Linked DNA regions of Homo sapiens: region 1 is linked to region 2. Evidence: promoter capture Hi-C in human tissues and cell types (Jung and others, 2019). All regions are on one chromosome and are shown on one strand. The core of a region is centred on a gene start or on the middle of the fragment in contact, and the rest is flanking DNA. Distances in the headings are between cores, read along the strand shown. Region 1 holds the start of LOC124903331 (a long non-coding RNA gene). Region 2 holds the start of PIGH (phosphatidylinositol glycan anchor biosynthesis class H).

Region 1 (6,813 bases), core at 4,314-6,813, 38 kb before region 2:
CTCAATACTCCTAGTACTTCAGTGCCTTCTTCCTACTGAAGACCTTCATTGCTTATTTCAAATCACATTCCCTTGTGAAATCTATTTTAGTCCAGACTGATCTCTTCCTCCTTTGAAATTCTGTAGAATTCAATATTTTTGTTTATTCCATGTATATTTATTTCATCTAGGCCTTAATATATCACAAATTTCCTGCAATCTCTAGCACTGCTGAGAAAATATCAGAACAGTGCTCAATAAAGTACATGCTGATTCAGGAGGAGACAGGATCAAAGGACTGATTGCATGAGTCACTAGGGTCCATATTGTGGAGGCAGAAAATGTATCCACAGCTGGGCACAGTGGCTCATGCCTGTAATCCCAGCACTTTGGGAGGCCTTGGCAGAAGGATCGCTTGAGCTCAGGAGTTCGAGACCAGTCTGGGCAACATGGCCAAACCCTGTCTCTACAAGAAATACAAAAATGAGCCAGGCATGGTGGCATGCACCTGTAGTCCCAGCTACTTGGGAGGCTGAGGTAGGAAGATGGCTTGAGCCTAGGAGGCAGAGGTTGCAGTGAGCTGAGATCATGCCACTGTACTCCAGCCTGGGCAACAGAGCCAGACCCTATCTCAAAAAAAAAAAAAAAAAAAAAAAAAAAGAAAATGTAGTAACATGCCAAAGGGGATTTCTAACAGGTCTATTAGCAGAAATGCTAACAAAAACTTGCACATTCAGCCTATCAATGGATCTTTCTAATTCTCCAAAGTCATAAGATAAGTCTCAAGAAAGCTTTCCAGGAGACAAGCATGTTAACACAGTGCCTAGGAACCTTGCCTAGTATACCTCTGAACTTGCTGTGTCTGAATGTACATATTCTTACTGTGCAATGTGTCATACAAAGAAAACCACAGTGCCCCTTGAGCAGCTCAGGATCTTAGACATTTAAATGCTTGCTGTTCATTTTAATATCTACCCTAAAAATTCTGTAGGGTATTTTTCTCCAGATGAAGAAACAGATAAAGAAGCTAAGTTATGAGCCCCAAGCACCATGTAATCCATCCCCTCACCACGCCTGGCTCCCAGCTTACCTGTGGTCTCCTCCCAGTGTGACACAGCTGTAGCCATCTGACACAGCTCTGCTAACCACCTCAGCCAGTTCCTGGTTGGCAAGACCCACTGAGCGTGGATTCACTATCAGGTTGTTGTAGAGATCATCTTTGGGGACTGGAGTAAAACTCAAATCTCCAAAGTCTTTTAGGTGGCAGCCTGGAAGCAAATGAGGGATGACAAGATGAATTTTCTGTGCTATCTCCAACTCTTAACTAGCCTGGGCCACAATGATAATACGTGACAAAGTACACATCATAATCATTTTGTCACAGTAAAATTTAAAATGTCAAATGATTGTGGGAAGATTATCTCGATCCTATTATGAACAGTTTTGCAGATGTTGGAAACTGAAACTAAGAGATATCGATTGACTTAACCCAACAATAAAAAAATGGTTAACCATTAGACCTCAGATATCCTGGAGTGATAGAGTAGAAATAAAATATCAAAAAGAACCAACAATCTTAAAGAAAATTAAGAACCAACAATTTTAAAGGAAATTAAGTACTATTAATTTAGCAAAAAAATACACAAAGAGAGTCTCATTTTTTTAAACTTTCTTTTTGTAGAAATGGGGTCTTGCTATGTTGCCCCAGCTGGTCTCAAACTTCTGACCTCAACTGATCCTCCCGCCTCATCCTCCCAAAGTGCTGGGATTATGGGCATGAGCCACCTGCCTGGCCAAGAAATTCACATATTATAAACTTTTATAAATAGCCAATCTGAAACATCCTAAAAGAAATATCTAATATTTATTGATTATTTACAAGATCCCAGGCATTGTTCTAGCTGCTTAACATAAATTCTTATTTAAGACTCAAAACAGTTGTGTGAGGCAACTAAAATGTGCCTATTTGGTGGATGAGGAAACTGAAGCAAAGAGAAGTAACCGCCCAAGTTACACAGCTATTAAGTGCCAGAATCAGGATCCAAATCTAGGCCATCTGGCTCCAAAGTTTGTACAGGTTGAGTACCCATTATCCAAAGGCTTGGGACCAGAAGTGTTTTAGATTTTTTATTTTTTTCAGATTTTGGAATATTTGCATTATATATATATTGAGATATCTTAGGGATGGAACTCAAGTCTAAACACAAAACTTGTGTTTCATACACACTTTATACACATAGCCTGAAGGTAATTTTATATAATATTTTAAATCATCTTGTGCATGAAACAAAGTTTGTGTGCATTAAACCATCAGAAAACAAAGGTGTCACTATCACAGCCACCCATGTGGACAATATGATTGTTTGGCATCACCATCTTCCTGACTCTGAATTTATATGCTACTGATAGGCAGTTATTTTCTTACTTTTTCACACATAAGTACTTAAAAGCAGAAAATATGACATACCATTAATACAGTGTGTTCAGGGTAACTTGTAATGTCATATTGGTGCTCAAAAAGTTTCAGATTTTGGAACATTTCCGATTTTGGATTTCTGGATTAGGGACGCTCAACCTCTATCCTTTACTATGCAGTTTGTCTCCTAAGGAATTCCTCATGAGTCCAACACTTTAAGAACTAGTGCTATATTCTCACAGCTTTGAATATTTCCCCACCTAAGTTGGATGCTACATTTAGGATGAGGACTAAATAATCTGACTGTATCAAAAAGGGATCTGAACTATCAGAGAACAGAACATTGACATAGATTATATTCTTAGGGTCCTGGTATTGGTGGGAAAGGGGCAGTAACAAGATAAGACGTGGCGTATCTTAATATTTGCAGAGATTTGTGTTAAAGGTTCGGATTAAGAGCAGCATGGACTCATCATGAATTTAAATTATAATTTTGAGCTCTACCTCTTGAACCCAAACTCAATCCAAAGCCAAAATTCTGAAGAAATATAAAAATTTGAGGAGCAGTGACCATAACAAAAAGCCATGAGGCCAACCAAGGAATTGCCACCGCAAGAGATATTGGAAACAAGACAGAAAACTTTGTCCTATTCTTTTTTTCCTCCCCAGCCCTTGTGTCACCCAGACCTATTCTTAAAGGTGAGATACACCTACAGCAAGAATTCTGTATTTATCTTTTGGTCATTACACTTTAAGAAATAGTCATATAAAAGGCCCCAACCTGGAGAAGATCCAGACAACCAGATAAAAAGGTAGCAGAGCAGGGGTAGGAGGAGAAAAATATGACAACAGGCCAAAGACATTGTGAACCAAGATAAAAATGTGAACCAAATAAAACATCTATAAAAATCTTTTATTTTTTTAAAAAAAGACAAAAAGGTTTGAGTAAAGTCATTATGGACTTCACCAAATCTCAAAATATGGAGAGGATACTTTAGACTTAAGAGAATGAAAGCTTTAATTAACCTTCAAGTCAATATCAAGTCTTTCCTCTGTCTGTTGACAACACAATCCTGGACTGCACAGACTTTTTTTTTTTTTTTTTTTTTTTTTGAGACAGGGTCTTGCGCTATCATGCAGGCTGGAGTGCAGTGGCACAATCTCGGCTCACTGCAACCTCCACTTCCTGGATTCAAGCAATTCTCCTACCTCAGCCTCCCAAGTAGCTGGGATTACAGGTGTGCGCCACCACGTCTGGTGAATTTGTTTTTGTATTTTTAGTAGAGACAGGGTTTCGCCATGTTGGCTAGGCTGGTCTCGAACTCCTGACCGCAAGTGATCCACCTGCCTCGGCCTCCCAAAGTGCTGGGATTACAGGCATGAGCCACTGCACCCAGTGTACTGTACAGATCTTGAATGGACAATTCCTGGATGTTTCTACTTTCACCTCCATGTTTATCTCAGCACTCTCCTTAAATCACATCAACCATTAGGTTCTTACTAGATGTAAGACACCAGGGTATGCCTGGTGTTTTATAATATTAGGTGTACAATTATAAAAGATTTATAATCTTTATAAATTTATATTTTGGTAATTGCACTCTAAGGAATAGTCATATAAAAGGCCCCAAACTGGAGTTAAATAATATTAACTAACGTTTCAGAACTATTTGCCAAGCACTTTCATTCAATCCTCATAGGACCAAGAAGAAATACAGGGAAATTAAAGTGCTCAATCCAGTGGATAAGTCACAGAACTTTGGGACTACCCAAGTCCAATCATGCAAACCAGGATGTAGACTCAGATAAACGTGACAGAAAACAGTACTCACTTGTATTAGAAAAAAGCTGCACAAAGCCTAAAAAGGAACCTAAAGAGAATTTGGCAATCTTACAGTAACGTTCCCAGGAAGAGAGACTGAATTTCATAGAAGGATTTCAGTCGCTAATTCAGGCCACCACTCTGCTCTCATTACAGGTGCTAGAAGGGTTACTAACTTCTGTCGGGGGTTCATCAGATTAATTCCCAACCTGGGTAGTGGATTCTGTCCACATTGTCCAACTCCATTTACTCCGATGCCATCTCACCAAACAGCATTCTGGCTATTCAGTTGGTTTCCCACATGCCTTAATATGGGCAAAAGCTTCTAGACAGTGGACACTGGAAGGACTACTGCTTAACATAATTATGCACGGGCATTTTGGTTGATCCAGCATGGTTAGCATGAGTCTGGGTCTGAAAGCCTGATGAGCTATGCACTCAGCAACCTTGTGTTTCTGCATCCACAAAGCTAAGGGCCAGCCTCCTCTAAAGGGATTTATACCTTGAGAGGCCCTGCCTGAGTGGCCTACCTTCCTGCTCCCAACTCTGTTTTTTCTTTTTTCCCCCTAGAATATTCAGGAAGAACGAACTCAACTCTATAATTTGCACAGTTTCAGTGCCAGGTAAGGACTTGGGACAATGAGTCCTAAAGGAGTCAGGGGAAGTTCACTGAGGATCAGGGGCGTCAAAGAAGAACTCCTATGACAAATAGTTTGTACTTGCACTGTTTTGTTTTGAAATTCTCTGTAAAATTGGATAACGTGTATATCAGAGGTCCCAAACCTACTGCCCGGGTTTTACTACTGTATCCTTTCAGACTTTAATCATTTTTTTTCTTTTTTTTTTGGATTATTTGTAGAGACAGGGTCTCACTGTGTTTTCCAGGCTGGTCTCCAACTCCTGGGCTCAAGTAATGCTCCCATCATGGCCTTCTAAAGTGCTAGGATTACAGATGTGAGCCACCATGCCTGGGCTAGTTATAGGCATAATACATAATATTATTTTAAGTAAGGTTATTAGAGTAAATTAACTGTCATAGCAAAATATGTTTGAGCCCAAAATATGGCTCAAACAAGTTTATTTCTTGTTTGTTTAGCATCCAGGGTAGATATTCCAGGTCAGCAGGAGGCTTTCCTTTATGCAGTAATTCAGAGACCTGGCTTGTGGCTCTCATGCCTAGGACTTTGCCATCTGTGTGGCTAAGTCTAGGTCTCCCCAGGTTCAAGGCAGCGGGAGAGGAAGAAAGCATTGAGAAAGCACACCTCCTCTTTTCAAGACTCTGGCCTGAAAGTGGCACATTACTCCTGCTCACTTTTGGCACTGGCCAGCAAATGCAGGTCTAGCTTATGTCCAGAACAGAATGCGAATGGATTTTGGTGGACAGCTAGCAATGTATGCCACCGTGAGTACTTTTTTATTCTACTGCCATAACCTTTAAGAACAAAATATGAAAGTTGCTCTAGGATTACAAATTTATGTTAAACTATTCTAGTTAATTACATAACTGAATCAACAAATACATGATGCCAGCCTGATGTCACCTCTTAAGAGCTTTCTCCTCTAATGCCCACTGTGCCAATAGTATTGGGTACTACCAATACCCAAAGGACTGGTAGAACAGAACCCTAGTTCTAGGATTATCTGAACCCTGGTTCTAGTATGTTGTTGTAGAAAACATGAATTGTAACCCATCTGCTACAGTTTTTTTTTAAGAGGAGTGAGGAGGCTGATGGGAAGTTAACTTTTTGTAACAGCAGGATGAACTGAGTAATATTAAAGTTCTTTTTTTTTTTTTTTTTTTTTTTGAGACAGAGTCTTGCTCTGTCGCTCAGGCTGGAGTGCAATGGCATGATCTCGGCTCACTGCAACCTCCACCTCCCTGGTTCAAGGGGCTCTGCTGCCTCAGCCTCCCCAAGTAGCTGGGATTACAGGCATGCACCACCATGCCCAGCTAATTTTTGTAGTTTTAGTAGAGACGAGGTTTCGCCATGTTGGTCAGGCTGGTCTCGAACTCCTGACCTCAAGTGATCCTCCCACTTCAGCCTCCCAAAGCGCTAGGATTACAGGTGTGAGCCACCATGCCCAGCCTTAAAGCTATTTCTTTATCAGAGTGCTGTGGCAAGTTCTTCTGGTTCATAGGTCATAAGAAACGGTCTCACTAATTTTTCAAGAAGCTTAGGGTAATGATGAAAAATGCAGACATTGTAATGTGTAAGGAATATGTGTCTGGCTGTTATGCCTGTGGGAACTTTCCCTTTCTCTAACTGTGCATCAGGTCAATTCATCTGTAAGTCCAGGTCAGATGAGACCTAGTGTTTCATTGCTGCTCTTTCTTCTAAGAGGACATTGTAGGACAAGAGGAGCCTGAAATTTCAAGGAAGTTCTCATGTCAAATAGATTTGGAACAATGTGAAAGGGTCTCATTTTTCACTTGCTGTTTATACACTGGCACAGCCTTGTTGCTTCTCTCCTGAGTGCTGGTAATAAAATACACCGAGTACTACTCTGATCTTTCAGGCCCAGATGTTACCTTTGGCCTTGATAAACCTCTCCAGGCTCTATCAGAGTGGAACAAGAACACAAGTGCATCAACAGA
Region 2 (6,635 bases), core at 4,136-6,635:
TTATATGACATAGGAGCTTTTGTAAAGAGGAAATACTTAGGTGGCAGGATTATGGATGTATTTTGTTCTATAAAATTTCAATTTGATGTTAGGTAAATACCAAACACATCTTACTAAAAAGAGAGTGGCAAGGCTGGGTACAATAGCTCATGCCTGTAAGCCCAGCACTTTGGGAGGCCAAGGTGGGAGAATACCTTGAGCCCAGGAATTTGAAGTTATAGTGAGCTGATATTTGTGCCAATGGACTCTAGCCTGGGTGACAGAGTGAGATGGTGTCTCTAAAAATAAATAAATAAAAAGGGAGAGTTAATAAATTTTTAATGTACATCATTTATGAGAATATCAGAAAACATCAAATACCTACAAATGAGGTCTAATGAAAGATGTGCAAATAATTGTTAAGCATTGCTGAGAGAAATTAGAGAAGACTTCAATAAATGGAGAGATGCCAGGTTCATGGATTGGAACATGCGGCATAGTTAAGATGTCAATTCTCCCTTAGATTGATTGATAGATTCAGTACAATCCAAGCAAAATTTTTGGTGAAAATACAAAAACCCTATAATAGCCAATACAATTTTGAAGAAAAGGTATAAAGTTGAAAGACTTAACAGTATGAGAAATCAAGACCTACTGTAGAGCTACAGTAATTGAGACAGGTTGCTATTAGCACAAGGGAAGACAAAATAGAACAACAGAACATAATAGAGAGTGTGGAAATAGACCGAGAAATTTGTGGTCACCTATTTACAACAAAGGCACTATCTCAATTAGGGGGGAAGGGTAGTCTTTTCAACACGTGCTGCTGGGAAACAAAATGACCCTTAACCTCTACAAACAAAAATTAGTTCAAAATGGATCATTGGCTTAAATATGAAAGGTAAAATAATTAAGCTTCTAGGGAAAAAAAAGATAGGCAAAGTTTTTTTTGTTGTTGTTGTTTTGTTTGTTTTTTCTCGCTCTGTTACCCAGGCTGGAATGCAGTGGCTTGATCACAGCTTTTTGTAGCCTCCTACAGTAAGCTGGGCTTACTGGGCTCAAGCAACCCTTCTGCCTCAGCCTCCCTAGTACCTAGTAGCTGTGCCACCATGCCCAGCTTTTTGTTTTTTGTTTTTTGTTTGGTAGAGTCAGAGTCTCGCTATGTTGCCCAGCATGTTCTGGAACTCCTGAGCTCAAACGATCTTCCTGGCTCAGCCTCTCAAAGTGCTGGGATTATAGGCATGAGCCACCATGCCCGCAAGACAGGCAAAGCTTCCTAAACAGGACAAAATATTATACAACACTAGCCATAAAAGACAAGATTGATAAATTGGACTTTATGAAAATTAAAACCTCTGTTCATCAAAAGACACCATTAGAGTATGGAAAAGTAAGTCACAGACTGTTTTACTGCTTGGAGGATATACCTCAATTAAAACATTTCCTTAAATGGACAGATGAGGAGACTTCCATTTCTGAAAGATGGAACAGACATTCTTTGCCTATCCATCCCAGTAAGAAAGCTAAAACCTTTGCGCCTGTAATCCCAGCTACTTGGGAGGCTGAGGCACAAGAATCGCTTGAACCCAGGAGGTGGAAGTTGCAGTGAGTAGAGATTGTGCTACTGCACTCTTGCCTAGGCGACAGAGCAAGACTGTCTCAAAAAAAAAACAAAAACAAAAAACAAGGGCAGGGCTGGGAGCGGTGGCTCACGCCTATAATCCCAGCACTTTGAGAGGTTGAGGCGGGCAGATCACCTGAGGTCAGGAGTTTGAGACCAGCCTGACCAACATGGAGAAACCCCATCTCTACTAAAAATACAAAATTAGCTGGGCATGGTGGCGCATGCCTGTAATCCCAGCTACTTGGGAGGCTGACCTCAGCAGGAGAATCGCTTGAACCTGGAATGCGGAGGTTGTGGTGAGCCAAGATTGTGCCATTGCACTCCAGCCTGGGTAACAAGAGCAAAACTCCGTCTCAAACAAACAAACAACCCACAAAGCAGTAATAAGGATTTTAGTGACTGGGTGCAGTGGCTCATGCCTGCAATCCCAGCACTTTAGGAGGCCAAGGCAACAGGAACGCTTCAACCCAGGCATTCAAGGTCACAATGAGTTATGATTATACCACTGCACTGCAGCCTGAGTAACAGAGCAACACCCTCTCTCTAAAAAGAAAAAGGATTTTAGAGATCTTAGACTACCACAGTATTTATTCCTAATAATTGAGTATTTTTAAAAAATTAAGTAAAGTACATTTGGCCTTTTTCTTTCTATAACTCTATAATTGTGAAACTTCTTAGCCTGCTGGGCATGGTGACTCATGCCTGTAATCCCAACTCTTTGGGAGGCTGAGGCCGAAGGATCACCCGAGCCTAGGAGTTTGAAAATAGCCTGGGAAACATAGTGAGATGCCATTTCTACAAAATATGCAAAAATTAGCCTGATGTGGTAGAGTGTGCCTGTAGCCCTAGATACTTGAGGGGCTGAGGTGGGAGGATCTCTTTAGCCCAGGAAGTTGAGACTGCAGTGAGCCATGACCGTACCACTGCTGCACTCCGCTTTCGGTGACAGAGCAAGACCTTGCCTCAAACAAAACAAAACAAACCAGAAAGAAAGAAAAAGAAAAGAAACTTCTTAGCCTGTACAGGTACCTTTTGTATTGTAGACCCTCTGGAAGTTTGGCGAAATGAATGGACCCTTTATTATAATAATGCTTTAAAATGTATAAATACATAGGACTTCTAAGAAAATCAACTAAATTAAAATATGGTTATCAAAATATTTTAAAAATGTGTTACAGTGATATGTTTCTCTTTATTGACACATTAAATAATAATAGCTAGTGATGGGTTTAATAATTACTGCAATTTTGAAGTAGCAATGACTAGAAATGACATTTTGAAACAATTATTGTGAAAAGAAAATATCTGTGATTTCTGTCAGTGACAAAAATCACAAGCTCTACTAATACTAGTTTGTTGCCCATATTCATAATCAAAAGAAATGTTAAATTTTAATTAGAAGTTAATGAAACTAAAAATGAAACACTGATTCTATCCGTGGAGCCCAAGTTAAGAACTCCAGGACTACAGGCTTCCCCAAAACATTAACAGTACTTATCTCTGAGTGATGGAAATATGGGTGGTTTACATTTTTTTCTTTTCTGTATTTTTCAAATTTTCCACAATAAGCAAATATCACTTTTATAATTATAAAACACATGATATATGCAATAGTAAAAGGGGTGATATGGTTCGGCTCTCTGTGCCTACCCAAATCTCATGTCAAATTGTAATCTCCACTTGTTAGGGGAGGGACCCAGTGGGAGGTGATTGGATCATGGGGACGGATTTCCCCCATGCTGGTCTCGTGATGCTGAGTGAGTTCTCTCACGAGATCTGACGGTTTAAAAATGTGGCACTTCCCCACTCCCCTCCTGCTGCCATGTAAGACATGCCTGGCTTCCCCTTTGCCTTCCACCATTATTGTAAGTTTCCTGAGGCCTTGCCAGCCATGTGGAACTGTGAGTCAATAAACCTCTTTTCTTTATAAATTACCGAGTCTCAGGTAGTTCTTTATAGCAGTGTGAAAACGGACTAATAAAAGGAGTGTATTAATTGTCAGATTCGGGGCACAGAAATAAAACTAGAAAAATAAAGAAGTGCTTGAAGAAATCCTTTAGGAAAAAAGAAAGGGAAATAAAATTCTGAATGAAGATGAAGAAACGGAACCTTTCATCAGAGAGACTTAAAGCTGGTGAGACCTTTATGCCATGGATCTTTTTTTTTTTTTAAATGAATATAGACACAGTCTTGCTCTGTTGCCCAGGCTGGTCTTGAACTCCTAAGTTCAAGTGATTCTCCTGCCTCAGCCACCCGAACAGCTGGGATTACAGGCATGCTCCACCATGCCCAGGTAATTTTTTTGTATTTTTAGTAGAGATGGTTTCACCATGTTGGCCAGGCTGATCTTGAACTCCTGACCCAAGTGATCTGCCCTCCTCAGCCTCCCAAAGTGCTGAGATTACAGGCATGTGCCACCATGCCCAGCCCATCACAAGTGTTTTGACAGTCCACATAGCCACTCCTGGGCCACATCAGAAGTAAAAATGGAACTCATAGGCCACTATTACTCATGAGTTTAGTAATTTTATTATCCATTTCTTCTGCATCTCCCGCTCCTGCTTAATTCCCAGCCAGGTCTTGCCTGTCTACCACGGTCCAAGCAGTCATTTGGGAGACAGAACTCCCAGGCAGTGAAATCCAAACTCCTTACCAGACCCTACAAGACCCTCTTGGATCTGACCCCTACCTGCCTCCCCAGCTTCCAACTGTTTTCCCCACACACCAACCTTTCTCGCCTTTTGATTATTTCATTAAGCCAAGCTTGTTCCAACTTCGAGGGGTTTGCCTTTCCTGGTCTTTCTTTCTGGCAAATTCCTCCTCCAGAGCTCCTTCAGTCCTGTCTGGCTCGTCACCCTTGTAACTCAGTGTCCTCTTACTTAGAGACTTCGCCTGACTGCCCTATGTAAAGTCCTCAGTCCATCCCTGCCAGTCAGCATAGTATTGCCAACGATACTCTCTTATTTCCATATTGTCTCCTACTAGAAAGGAAGCTGCCCGAGGGCAGAGACTGTCATCAACATCGTTCACTGCTGCATCCTCAAGCACCTCAAACTACCCGGCACAGGAAAAGAGTAAGTGAAATGAATACCCGTGGGCTCTCCTTGCGGCTCACTCTGGCTTAGAGAAATCGGCTTGCCAAGCAAAAGCATGATTAAAACTGTGGGTTTGGGCTGGGTGCGGTGGCTCACGCCTGTAATCCCAGCACTTCGGGAGGCCGAGGCGGGCGAATCACCTGAGGTCAGGAGTTTGAGACCAACCTGGCCAACATGGTGAAACCTGTCTCTACTAAAAATACAAAAATCAGCAGGGCGTGGTGGCGCGCGCCTGTAATCCCAGCTACTCAGGAGGCTTAGGCAGGAGAATCGCTTGAACCCGGGGGAAGCAGGTTGCAGTGAGCCGACGTCGCGCCATTCCGTCTCAAAACAAAAACAAACTGTGGGTTTGTTTTGAGACAGGGTCTTGCTCTCTCGCACAGGCTAGAGAGCAGGGGCATGATCTCCGCTCACTGCAACCTCGACCTCCCAGGCTCAAGCGATCCTCCCGCCTTGGCCTCCCAGTGCTGGACTACAGGCCTGAGTCAACGCGCCCGGTCTAAAAACGATTTTAATCTTTCCACTTAACTATTGCCCCGACGAGGTTTTTTCGAAGACAGTCAAGGCCGGCCCGGAAGAACGCACAACCATCAGCCCCCAGCAGAGCTCTCGGCGCGCAACTGAGGCTGCGCAGGCTTAGGGCGGGGCGTGGTGACGCGGCTGCCGGAAGCGGGTCTGGAGCGGGCGAGACGGCCAGGGCCGGCGAGCGCAGTGCAGCGCCGCGCGGTGCGGGCGGCCGAGTGGGGGCGTCATGGAGGATGAGCGGAGCTTTTCGGATATCTGCGGCGGCCGCCTGGCGCTGCAGCGCCGCTACTACTCCCCGTCCTGCCGGGAATTCTGCCTCAGCTGCCCTCGGCTCTCGCTGCGTTCGCTCACCGCTGTCACCTGCACGGTGTGGCTGGCGGCCTACGGACTCTTCACCCTCTGCGAGGTAATGGCAAGTCGGCCCCTCCCCGCGCTCGAAGGAGGGGGTTCGGCTTTGGGAGGGTCTTTGGGGTCTTTGGTCGAGCCCGGACCTCTGGTCGGCCCCTCCTACAGTGATAGGACAGGAGGGCGGGAACTCACGGGTTCTGGGGACGATATTCCGCTGCTGGACAGCTCTTTAAATGACGTTTAGTGAAATGTGTGCTCCTGGATAGTACATTCCCCTTCCGTGGCTGTGCTCTGCTCCGTGGGTTCACTCAGCATACATCTAGTTCTTGCGCGACGGCCTAAAACTTTAACTGCCATGTGTTCTATGTAGTATAGGCGCGCAGTAATTTAATTCCAAGAGTTCAAGGAACTACTAAGTGGGTCTTCCTCGTCCATCCCTTCTGCTCCTCAAAGTAGTACTGCTAACAATACTTTACGTAGACTTCCACAAACTGTCTTTGCCTCCACAAGTGTGTGTGTTTATCTGTGTGTATAGATAGAGTGTTATAGTTCTTCCTAATCTCTGTTTTTCAAGGGAGTTTTTTAACCCTCCCTCCTCCCAAACCCTTCCCCAATTTCAAGTACTTTCTAAAGGTTTATGAAATTTTGGACGTGTGTGATAGCTGTGCTCAATTTCCAGATTCATTCCTGTTTTCTCTGAGCCTCAATTTTCTACATCTCTAAAATAGAATTCATGCCTGCCATACCAGCTTCATGATATTGTGAGGGTTAAATGCAGTAACTTTGTGACAGCTCTCAAATAAAAAGAATTATCCTAATTTTCAGGATAAGTTCTAGTTTCATATGTAGTGCCTGAATTGAATGTATTATCCCAGAAGTGATCTAATCAGAGCTAAGTACAGCAGGGCTATTTATTTTTGTAACTTGGATATTGTTTCCATTACTGCATCCATTCGCTTTTTTGCTGTCAAAGCGTGTTTCAGAGCATGGTAATTTAGCATAGAAATATGCAGAATTAAGACTGCCCTAATTGCAGGAAACTATCTAACTATCTAAACCGTATG

Evidence for each region. The method cuts DNA at HindIII sites, captures the fragments that hold promoters and counts their contacts. A contact is called where the count stands out against the background at its distance.
Region 1: a fragment that was not itself captured here is called in contact with the fragment with the promoter of PIGH in region 2 in 1 of the 25 tissues and cell types used here (pancreas).

Annotation. Positions count from the first base shown.
Region 1 is chr14:67,636,620-67,643,432 of GRCh38, reverse strand. It overlaps ARG2 (arginase 2), which reads right to left. Exons shown (of 8, transcript NM_001172.4): 3 at 1,070-1,247. It overlaps LOC124903331 (a long non-coding RNA gene), which reads left to right and starts at 3,720. Exons shown (of 2, transcript XR_007064218.1): 1 at 3,720-4,840. It also overlaps a transcript of GPHN not described here. The HindIII fragment of the contact is 3,175 bases long and covers 3,976-6,813 here.
Region 2 is chr14:67,599,018-67,605,652 of GRCh38, reverse strand. It overlaps PIGH (phosphatidylinositol glycan anchor biosynthesis class H), which reads left to right and starts at 5,385. Exons shown (of 4, transcript NM_004569.5): 1 at 5,385-5,629. The coding sequence starts at 5,450. It also overlaps a transcript of GPHN not described here. RefSeq lists an enhancer at 5,388-5,707. The HindIII fragment of the contact is 9,090 bases long and covers 2,810-6,635 here.